4 separate regions of the Homo sapiens genome follow, and regions 2, 3 and 4 are each linked to region 1. The links are contacts of gene promoters, found by promoter capture Hi-C in blood cells and fetal thymus (Javierre and others, 2016). All regions are on one chromosome and are shown on one strand. The core of a region is centred on a gene start or on the middle of the fragment in contact, and the rest is flanking DNA. Distances in the headings are between cores, read along the strand shown.

Region 1 (2,700 bases), core at 161-2,660:
TTGGCCTTCTAAGGTTACAGAAAAATTTAGCTTACAATATCCCAACAAAACTAAAGTAGCCTGGGTCCAGTTTTGTCATGTGAACATCCTGATAAACTTCGAGAGCAGTCTTATTCTTCAGCTCTATACAAAGATGATTTTACCTGGCCTTTTCCTTTTCGTAAGACTTGATGTGATTATACCAACGTAGGGCATGACACAAGTCGGCAGGCGGTGGGCTGGACACGGCTTCAAATACTGCCACATCTGCTTGTGATGGCACATACCTGCCAAGGACACAGAAACATTCACACACACCTTTGAAAAACAAACGCCAGCGAATAAATAATAAATACCGTATGCATCACATTAATTAGTGGGCACTAACCCCAGCAGGGTTGCTTTAATGCTTTTCTTTTCTTATTAGCTCCTTCAAATCAAACCATATGTTTGGGTCACCGCGCTATCCTGAGAAATGTCTGCCACTAAGTAGACCTCAAATACTGCAATGTCTGGCGTTGCTCTATCTACAGCTTAACATGTATTAACTGGGCAGCGATGCGGAAACACCTGGCTGAATTAAGTGTAAATAAAGCACATTTTAACCTTTCCTTGCTCGTGAACCGCTCCCCGGAGGCCGGGCTCGCCCCACACGAGGGCCTTGGGAGACGGCAACGGGGCGCTTTCCCCTCCCTCTCGAAAGGGCCCCGGGCCCGGCCTCCCTCCCTCCCGCGGCAGCCGACACGCTGCGCCACGTGGCCCCGGCCCCGGGCGGAGAAACCTCCCCGCCACCCCGACTCAGCCCGTCCGCTCACCCCTCGATGTAGCTCTTGTCCGCCAGGTAATCGTTGAGCACCTGGAGGCCGGCAGGGCTTTTCAGGTCTCCGAAACCCATGGTGTCGGCTGTATCCGAGAGCTGGGGAGCAGCAGAAAGAGAGCGCGCAAATTGTGGGCGCCCCACGCTGAAGAGAGGAAAAAGGACCCGAAGAGACCGGAAAATTCCTTATATAGAGACGGAGGCGTTTCCCTCCACCGCGCCGGACCGAAGGTTAAAGGTCAAAGTACTTTTGCATTCCCACTTCTCCACGTACGAATTGGGGGCCCTGAATTAAATGGCCCACAAATTGTCCATGGACCTTTCGTTGCGTTTGGAAGTAAATTAATAAAATAGGCATGTCTTAAGTTCGTACCTCCACGGCTCCCGAAGATGACGGGAACCAGCCCTAGAAGCGCCGGAGATGACCGAAGACGCCCGGCCTCGAGGCTGGGGCCACTTCCGGCGGAACTGCGGGTCCAAGTTGTCCTTCCCGCCTCCGGGCTGGGCCGACCTCAGCTCCGCCCTCTGGTCGGCTGACGGAAATTGCCGACAAACTTGTCGAATGCAAGGATTCTAGTCCCTCCGGGCTTTCCGTTCTCCAGGCCCGGCTGACAGAGTTAGCCGAGGCCGCCATATTGAATAAGCGACCCGGCCTCCTAGGGGGTCGTCGTGGTCCAGACAGTTTAGCAGAACAGCCTCCGCGGCTCCGGGGAGAAGGTGAGGTCTTGTATGGATGGGAAGGGTGAGGTGCGTCGGCCAGAGGCTTATTTATTGACGGGACTGTTTCCTTTGGCCCACGCGACGTAGTCTTCTGTTGTCCTTGACTGGGCGCCGCCTCCCGCCCCGCCGCCTCGGAAGCCCCTGAGAGCCGGCAGATGGGGGGCTTTTAGCCACGGTCTCTGGTCTGATGAAGCAGAAAAGAAGATGAGGATCAGGGGGTCCTCGGGAACGCTGTCACGAATGTAGGCTTGCAGGTGACCTTCCCTCTGCAGGGAAAATTCAGGACATTTCCCTCTCAGAGGAGGAGGCCGTTTTATTCCCCGGGAGAGGACCAGTGTCCGATGACTTAGGCCTTAAGACTAAGCCTTTCCCCCCAGATTTTTACACGCCTGATACAGTGCATGATTGTTTGGTCGCTGTTGTGTTAGCAATGGCTCACGCTTCTGTTTGTTGTCCTTGTTTGTTTGGTCCATTGACCACGTTGGACAGCATTTTTTTATTCCTTTAACTAACGGGAAATTGAGAAAAACGACTTTTGAAAAGTTAGCCCAGGATTGCATTGCAAATAACAAAACGTTGTTTACAGGTTATTGGGATCCAGTGCTTGAACTGTAAGGTCTTGGATCAGACACAACTCTGTTCACACACGAATTGACGGTATAGAAGTGTAACGTTAACTGTTTTTGATGAATAAACAAGTTATTTTTGTTTTGCGGAATATTCTTGTTTTCACCGACTTAAGGCTGCCAGAGCACCTGCACTTTTTAAATCCGGGAAAGTGGTCTCTACAAATTAACGACCAGAAATTAGAGATTCAGTTCACTTAACCGTTATTGAACATTTACTACGAGCCAGAAATGAGTCCGTAAAGAAGAATAAAATGGATGATATGCTGGGGGAATCGTAAATGTTAGATAGCCTGGTCAATGAAACTGAGAAAAGGCTTTTAAGCCAAGATTTGAAGGATAAGGAGGGGCCAGGGAAGAGCATTTCAGTCTGAGGTCACAGCCGGTGGCAAGAGGGGAGAGGCTGTGTGGGAATAGTGTGGAAGCTTGGTGACCTGTTAAGCTATTGAAGGCCGGAGGCGGTGGCTCACTCCTGTAATCCCACCACTTTGGGAGGCCGAGGCGGGCGGATCACGAGGCCAGGAGATCGAGACCATCCTGGCTAACACGGTGAAACCC
Region 2 (2,700 bases), core at 148-2,647, about 17 Mb after region 1:
AGTGATGCTGACATATTGTTATAATTGTTCTATTTTATTAGTTATTGATGTTAATCTCTGTGCCTGATTTATAACTTAAACTTTATCATAGGTATGTATGTATAGGAAAACATTTACTATATAGAGTGTCTGGTATTACCTGTGGTTCTAGGCATCCACTGAGGGTCCTGGAACATATCCTCTGTGGACAAGGGAGAGCTACTGTATTACAACACACTAAATTTGTTGCAAACTGGGACCACTACTATCCTATTTTATTAGTTCAAGACACTTGATTTTCACTTGTTCATCTCTTTGAAATTAGAATGCATCTTATAATCAATGGTCTCTTGTAAGTGCTGTCAGCCAGGAGGCATGGTTGTATGAAATGGTATAAGATCAAGAATGTATGAGCAACAAAGCATTTGCGATATATAACCTGCCCTTTGGCTGGAGCCTCTTCTCCATTCCCATGAGTACTTCAGTTCAGAAGCTTAACATCTCCAGCCTGGGCCACTCTTCAGGGCTTCCTACAGTCTCCAGGTACAGTCCTTCAATGCAGCTTTCACAGTCACACCAGACTAATTTTGCAAATTTGACCATATTACTTGCTCAGATAAAGCTAAAATCCTTCACTGTTTTCCCTCTGACTTTAGGAAATGATCTAAATTCTTAAGGCTTTGGTAGTCTGATCCCAGTCTAACTTGAACTACTTTTTCACTTAACACTGTGCTCTATTAAAATAGTTCATAACTCCAACAATTTCCCCCATCCCCCAGACACACCCTATCAATATGAAGAGGTCCTTTAGATATGGCTTCCTTGAGACAGTGGTGGGTAGGGGGCTACTGTTGGCCAAGAAAACTTTCCCTAATTGATTCTGATAAGCTTCCTCAGAAAAAAGGAATATCCTCTCTTCTTGTTTCTCAGCATAGAACAATGGCTTCAATTACTTAAACGCAACCCTTCAAAGTCAACTTTCTCTCCATGGTTTTGCACTCTCTGCTATCTACATAGAACACGTTTTCTAATTACTTCTTTTTTATTTCCTAAGAGTAAGCTTATTTTTTAACTTTTAATTTTGAAATAATTTTAGATTTACAGAAGAATTACAGAGTTCCTGCATACGCTTCACCTAGCTTCCACAAATGTTAGCACTTTACATAAGCACAGCATGTTAGTCAAAACTAAGATATTAACACTGGTACATGACTATTGACTACATAATTTATTTGGAGCTCTTCACTTTTTCCATTAATGTCTTTTTTATGTTCCTAGACCCCAGTCCAGCATACCACCTTAGTTGTCATATCTTCTCAGAACCTTCCAATCAGTGACAGTTTTTCAGTCTTTCCCATTTCTCAGAACTCTTGACTACTGCTTTAAGATTCAGCTCAGAATTTTCTCCCGGAAGCCCTTCCTCATCTTCTCATTCTAGATCAGCACCCGTCCTAATGTGCTTCTACACGACGGTGGGCTTAGCTCCATCACAGAACTTACCACAAGGCATTAAGACTGTCTGTGTACTATGTTTCTCCTCTACCAGACTGTGAGTCTTTGAGGTGAGACACTGTGTTTTCACTTATTAGAAACAATAATAAGTCAAACACAAATGGATTCGAATGTCAGCTTTATTATGTATTAGCTGAATGATGTTGGAGAATTTACTTAACCTCTTTAAACTTCACATCTCCACTTACAGTTAGCCACTGTAAAATGTAAATAACACGTTCTCATAGAGTTTAAGTGAAACATTGCATGCAAATACAAGCTTAGCATACACAGCAAGCACTCACTCAATAGGGATAATACCTTAACCTTGTAGACTGGAAGGTGTGTAATGCACCCACCACAACACCTGTCACATAGGATTCATCTTTGTTGAGAAAGTGAAGAAGTAAGAAATTAGGGATGTTTCAAGTCGGAACCAAGATTTAAACTAGACTCTGAAGGATGTATGATTTAAGGGGTGGGAAGAAAAAATAGCAACATAAGCAAGAGCAAGGAAATGGTATGATTATATACAAGACACAGATAATGTACTTATCTGACAAGCAAAGTGTCTATAATGGGTAGTATCAGGAAACAGTTGGGTAGGAAGAGTTGAGCTATATCAGAGAAGGGATTGAAAGCCATATAGAGGAGCTATAGTTAAGGAGGCAACAAAAAACTGTTAAAAAGTTCAGAGCAAGACTAGAAATAAGAGTTAGAGTAATAATGTTATAACAGTAACAACTTAGGAAAATTGTTACAGCAGCAATACTCAGAATGATCTGTAAGGGAAAAATACTGAGTTTGGGACATTAGCTTGTGGGCAATTTAGGAAAGTGAAAGGCAAGGATGACTCATTGTTTCAGTTTTCTCTACCCTAACAACCCCAGTGCAATAATTCACAGCACCATATAACTGTGGGATGCCGCAGAATGGGATGCAAACAGAACTGGACTGAGAGTCAGTAATATCTAATATGGGAACACCAGGAACTTACATGTATACCCACATGCCCCTCAGAACAACCTACTCAAGTACCTAGAACAGAGTTTTTGTTCTAGTTTCAAGAGGAAGCCGCCAAAATTCCACAAGTCTGTCTTTTTATGATTTTGGCTTTCTTGATAAGCACCTTGAGGTAAAATACAAAATTATTCCTCTTTGTATAAGGCAGCCAATCCCTTGTGGTACCTTGTAGATAATATTCAAATCTTTGCTGAGTTCATTAAAATC
Region 3 (2,700 bases), core at 18-2,517, about 18 Mb before region 1:
AATGTAGATATCCATCCCCCAAACATATGCTTCTTTAAAATAGGAAGAACACAAACTTTAATAAGAACTCACGTATTCCCTTGCAGAGTCAGAAACCCAAACATAACAGCAATTGGGCAAGTAGGTAAATGAGGAAGTACAATTCATAACAAATGGACAGCAAAACCGATAAGTCAAATTAGACATTTTGACTATAAAGCGACCAAACGCCTCTCCTCCAAAACCAAAAGCCAAAACCTTTTCAAATATACAGCAACTGAATCAGACGGTAATTTTGGCTTTAAAAATCTACAATACTCTTGGTAATGGTAGAAATGATTTATCCGGTAGGTTAAAGATAGGTTTCTATCATTCCACTTAACATTATTTACCAAATGCTGCATTTCATTAATGGAGCTGTCAGTTTATTCTGATGGTAATGAAAAACAGGTTTTAACATGAATAAGCCCTGGGTCCACCAGAAAATATCAGTGAATCAAGAGGTCCCGAAGCTTATGCAGTTTAAGGGAACTTCGTAGATTAAATTTCCACCTTCCAGTCCTGAGAGCTGTGGTGTGCACACCCAGTCCGAATACCTTGTTGAGCATACAGGACACTAATTTCCGACACTGCAGCTAACTCCTGCACAAACTCTTCAAGTTGCAGGCTTCTACTCAAGTACCCATCCCTAGTCCACATGCCCTAGAAAAACACAGGAACCAGTTCGGGACGTAGTTACACATCTAGCACCCCACGCTCCTCCTCAAGACTATCCTCCTGCTGTCCCAGCCCAGTGGGGCCCAGCCCACTACCATCCCGCTCCCGCTCTCCGAACTTCCCCCCTCCCACTCCCCACCATGTGACCAGGACCCTCCCAACCGCCGCTCCGAGCTCCACCAATCAGCAACCACCTCCACCCAGAACCCGGGACCTGGCGCTCCACTTTCAAAAAGGCAGCTTAATCCTCCCGCCCTCAGCCACGCCCCCTTTCCGCTTCCCCGCCCCGCCGGCCCCTCCCACTTCCTTCAGTTCCCTGTTCCCCTCCTCCCCTCCGGTGGCGCCCACCCTCTCCCGGGCTTCGCCCCGCCCACCAGGGGGGCAGCGCGCTCGCCCTCTTCTCGCGAGATCTGAGCGTCCCCCGCGGCGGCCGCCGGGCTCCCCCTCCCGTCCTCCCACCTCCCTCCCCCGGCATCTCTCACTCTCCGGCTCTCCTCCCTCCCTCCTCCCCCCTCCACCCTCTGGGCCGGATCTCGTCTCGCTCAGGCGGAGGAGGAGAAGGAGGAGGAGGAGGACGACGTTCGGCCTGCGCAGTGAGATGTTTGTCCGTCGCCGCCGCCGCCGCCATCGCGGAGGAGCGCGATAAAGGGAGCCGAGCCGGACGTGAGGGGGACCCCGCGGAGCCGCCGCGCCAGCGCAGCCCCCCAGCCGCATCGGAGTCGCCAGAGTCCGAGCCGCCGCCGCCGCCGCCGCCGCCCCCGCCGCCGCCGCGGCTGCCCAGGGGCCGGCCAGCTCCCCAGCCCTGCCCGGGGGTCGCGCCGCCGCCGCCCCCAGCGTCGCCCCTAGCCTGCCTGCCCGCCTTAAATGTGACACCGGCGTCGCGGAGCGCGACCTGAAGCCGCCGCCGGGGAGGGGACGAGCACCATGTCGAATCTGAGCAAAGGCACGGGCAGCCGGAAGGACACCAAGATGCGGATCCGGGCCTTTCCGGTGAGTCTCTCCTCGGCGTCCGGGACCCCGGGGCCGGGGGCCGGGCCGAGAGCCGCACGCGAGGCCCGGGCTGAAGTCCCCCAACAGGCCGCAGGCCCGGCCTCCCCTCCCCCACGCCCGCCGGCCGCGGGGCGCGAGCCTTCCCGGCAACCGGGCGGCGCGGGGCCCCGGCGCGGCCGCCCTCCCGGGCCGTTCCCCGCGCCGGGAGCCCGGGCCTGGCGCCGCGCCCCCGTCCGGGAGCTGCTCCTTCAGCCGCTCCGCGGGCGTCGGCTGCGGCCGGGGCCCCTCGGCCGCCCCACGCCTCCCCACGTTGCCGGGGTTGTAGGCCCAGTCTCCGGCGCTGCTAGCAGCCGCGGAGTCCTCCCTGTGTGGGGCGTGTGTGGAACTTTTCACGTGGGGTTTCGCTACACTTTGAAAATTTACCCAGCCTAGCTTTTAGGGTGATGAAGGGGCTGCCCTCTCTCTCTGCCCCCCTCCCCAGGAAGGTCTATGCCATCAACCTGCCCCCGACGCAGTGACAGTGGTTCCACGGAATGCTCCGTGGTCATAAACTAGTAACATTGGGTGTATTTATAGCGTCTTTCATCCTACAAGCTTCCTAAGCACTTTACAAACTCTTGTGCAGGATTGCCTCGCCACTCGGAGGAAGGCCGGGTGGGGGGGAAGCAACAGAGAGCAAACCGGCCAATTGGTTCTCCATTTCTCAGCCTTGGGAGCCCAAAGAATGAGTGTAGTCGCCTTGCGGAGTAGCTTTGTTTCATCGCTTTCAGTGACAGCAAACGTGTTCTGCTCAGAAACTTTTTCTTTTTTGGCATTACGTTGAGTCGTACCCTTGCGATGTTTAGTATATAGGATATAACTTTGGGTGTCAAATCTGGTTCAGCTTCCCCGTGGCAAGCAATTAAAATGTACTGTTAACGAACTGGGCATACTTGCCTATGTCGCTACAATAAAAGGCATACGTCAAGACAGACGAACTAGCAATCGGACAGAAGATTTTAAAAAGTAAAATTA
Region 4 (2,710 bases), core at 128-2,627, about 16 Mb after region 1:
AGTGCACCCTAGAGAAAATGTGAGTTATTTTCTCTTCTAGCAGTTAAGAAAACAGACTCCAGTGCCAGATGTCCTGACTTCTAATCCTAGCTTTGCTTTTCCTAGTTGTGTGACCTCCAAAGCACCCAAACTCTGTGGCCCAGTTGCCTGTAAAATGAGGACAGAAACTATTTCATGGGATTTTGAAAGAAATTAATCTACAGCAGGTGCCTGGTACATAGTGCCACTTTATCATTATTGTTACACATAAATGAAATTTTTGAAAAACATAAGTTCCAAATAAAAAACCTCAACCATATTCTGGTAATTATTTACTTATTTATCTGTATCCACCTCTAGACTGTACTCTGTGGCTTCCCAACATGTTGTTATGGGATTTACTCATCTTTTATACCCAGAGCTTCACAACGTGCAAAGTGCAGGTATATATGCCAGCCCTGTACAACAGTGGATTCTAAGGTCCTTGCTTACTAAAATCTTAAATACCAGCAGGGGAAAAGCCTGACTCTTGGAATAAATCTGTCCAATGTTCAAAACAAAGTTCACAAACCAATAAAAGAAAAAAAAAAAAAAAAGCAGGTGCAAGACTTTGAAAACATACCATGCTGAATTTCATGTACATAGTAAGGAAGGACAACATAATGCATTATGAAAATAGGATGGTTTAAGGCAACTGAATATTTACCACAGCCTTTTTTTTTTTTTTTTTTTTTTTTTTGAGACAGAGTCTCGCTCTGTAGCTCAGGCTGGAGTGCAGTGGCGCGATCTCGGCTCACTGCTACCTCCGCCTCCCGGGTCCCAGTTCAAGCAGTTCTCCTGCCTCAGTCTCCCGATTTTTTTTTTTTTTAATTGTAAAAATAAGCCAGCCCCTTTCTTCCTAGTGAAGTGGGAGAAACGGTTTACACTGTCCGATGAGAAACACTTCCGTTCTTTGGTAACCCTGCTAGGGGGCGCCGCTAGATTCCATCCTATTTCTCCGATGAAAGTATCAGGTACCTCACCCCTAAGTTTAGATTTGATGATAGTTCCCTTAAAAATGAATGACGAATAATCTACCCCATCCTTTTCTCACAGTAGCAACCAAATTCCAGCCAAGGGCAAAAAAAAAATTTCTTTTTAATGTAGCTTAGTGTTTGGAACTTGATGTTGTGTAGTCAGACAAACCTGTATTCGGCCTCCGCTGGATCAGTCACTAGCTGTGTAATTTTACAGAACTCTCATCACCTGCAAATCTGGGGGAAATGCAGGTGCGCACAGAGAGCGTTTTGGGCAAAGACGGCCTTTAAGCTTTTCTTCACTAAGCATGCCGCTCGCTAGCGGAACAGCAGCCAGCTCTGGACGGGACCTTGCACAGTTCCGATGACATCACTTCCGGGCGCCAGGTTCGGGCTTTCTCCTGCAGCGATAAGGGCAGTCGACAGTCTTTAGTAGGGAAAGGAGACAAGTGCTAGCTACTGCCGCCCAAGTGGAAGGTGGGTGAAATTGCTCACTCTTCACCCCACTGACGCTTTTGCGCACCTGGAAAAGCGGTTCCAGTTTGCGCCCGTCGCCGCCTTACAGCCGACAGGAGACCAGCGCTACCCAAGTCACGTGGGTTCAGCCTGCAGCTTTCTTGGCCCGAAAGGGTAGTGCTTCGTACAATCCTCCTTGTCCAGATTTTGTTAATGCAAATCTAATTCCTCTAGGTTGTGTCTGTCTGGGCTGCACTGCCCGCAACTGCCTTCTGCAAATAGGTCGCTCATCTCTAATCCCTGGGATGCCGTGTCCCTTTAGTGTGGTGGAGAAAGGCCCTGCTTTAACACCCAGAAAGTTTTAGAACGGATGATCTGGGGGCATAAAATTAGGTGCTTCGCAGTGTGAAAATACTAGTGTGCTTTAGTGATGGGCTGCTATTATTTTGGGGGAAAAGGATTTGGGAAGATCCTTGTTATGACAAAACCTGTAGCAAAAAGTGGAGATTTAATTCCAAAGATTGCAATTAAGGATAAAATAGGTGTTAGGTTGCAGTTGGCGTGTGTGTGTTTATGTTAACTCTTGTTTTTGAACCAAATGATCCAGTTTTATTTTGAAAGATGTTTTTAGGAGATGGAATACATTAACAGTATTTTTATCTGTTCCATCTGCCTTTGTTGTTTGATTCTTTTTAGAAAATCCACATTTTGTCTTAATTTTAGCTGTCAAAAAATAAATAGCACTTTTCAGAGGACTCTATCAATTATTGTACTTTATATTAGCTGTCTTAATAGTAAGTCTTTTGGTAGGAACAGCATGCAAGTAATAATAATACTAAAAAATTTTATATCTGACCCCTGTTTTCCCCCTTGGAGAACATTATATTCATTCATAATATTATTTATATTCCCATGTTGCTATAGCCTTTACAAACTTTTGGTGACTTTTACAAACTTTCCTGTAATTCTGTAAAACTATATATTGAAAAATAAGCTGGCTAATGTCAGTTGCAAATAATAAGTTGTTTCTGTAATTCTTTTTCAGGAATTATCTATAGAGTAAGTATGCTAATCTTGACTAAGACTGCAGGAGTTTTTTTTAAACCATCAAAAAGGAAAGTTTATGAATTTTTAAGAAGTTTTAATTTTCATCCTGGAACACTATTTCTTCATAAAATAGTATTGGGAATTGAAACTAGTTGTGATGATACAGCAGCTGCTGTGGTGGATGAAACTGGAAATGTGTTGGGAGAAGCAAT

What was found. Contacts are between HindIII fragments. The CHiCAGO score rates a contact against its expected background, and 5 or more counts as called.
Region 2: a contact is called between a fragment that was not itself captured here and the fragment with the promoter of NDUFS1 in region 1, in 1 of 17 cell types (total CD8 T cells). The highest score is 9.8, in total CD8 T cells.
Region 3: a contact is called between the fragment with the promoter of CUL3 here and the fragment with the promoter of NDUFS1 in region 1, in 1 of 17 cell types (erythroblasts). The highest score is 6.8, in erythroblasts.
Region 4: a contact is called between the fragment with the promoter of OSGEPL1-AS1 here and the fragment with the promoter of NDUFS1 in region 1, in 1 of 17 cell types (activated CD4 T cells). The highest score is 5.4, in activated CD4 T cells.

The regions. Positions count from the first base shown.
Region 1 is chr2:206,158,154-206,160,853 of GRCh38, reverse strand. It overlaps NDUFS1 (NADH:ubiquinone oxidoreductase core subunit S1), which reads left to right and starts at 1,410. Exons shown (of 19, transcript NM_005006.7): 1 at 1,410-1,513. EEF1B2 (eukaryotic translation elongation factor 1 beta 2) reads right to left here and starts at 959. Exons shown (of 6, transcript NM_001959.4): 1 at 795-959; 2 at 144-266. The coding sequence starts at 874. RefSeq lists a silencer at 623-692 and enhancers at 953-1,212, 1,323-1,732. The HindIII fragment of the contact is 3,079 bases long and covers 1-2,569 here.
Region 2 is chr2:189,444,158-189,446,857 of GRCh38, reverse strand. All of the region lies in intron 1 of WDR75 (WD repeat domain 75), which reads right to left. Among named protein-coding and RNA genes, the nearest start is that of WDR75, 4.0 kb to the right of the region's middle. The HindIII fragment of the contact is 711 bases long and covers 1,042-1,752 here.
Region 3 is chr2:224,583,930-224,586,629 of GRCh38, reverse strand. It overlaps CUL3 (cullin 3), which reads left to right and starts at 1,267. Exons shown (of 16, transcript NM_003590.5): 1 at 1,267-1,686. The coding sequence starts at 1,621. RefSeq lists silencers at 794-1,213, 1,544-1,803. The HindIII fragment of the contact is 1,789 bases long and covers 494-2,282 here.
Region 4 is chr2:189,761,447-189,764,156 of GRCh38, reverse strand. It overlaps OSGEPL1-AS1 (OSGEPL1 antisense RNA 1), which reads right to left and starts at 1,377. Exons shown (of 2, transcript NR_102429.1): 1 at 1,165-1,377. It overlaps OSGEPL1 (O-sialoglycoprotein endopeptidase like 1), which reads left to right and starts at 1,365. Exons shown (of 9, transcript NM_022353.3): 1 at 1,365-1,472; 2 at 2,497-2,710. The coding sequence starts at 2,517. It also overlaps a transcript of ANKAR not described here and a transcript of ORMDL1 not described here. RefSeq lists enhancers at 690-1,436, 1,723-1,882. The HindIII fragment of the contact is 3,776 bases long and covers 1,290-2,710 here.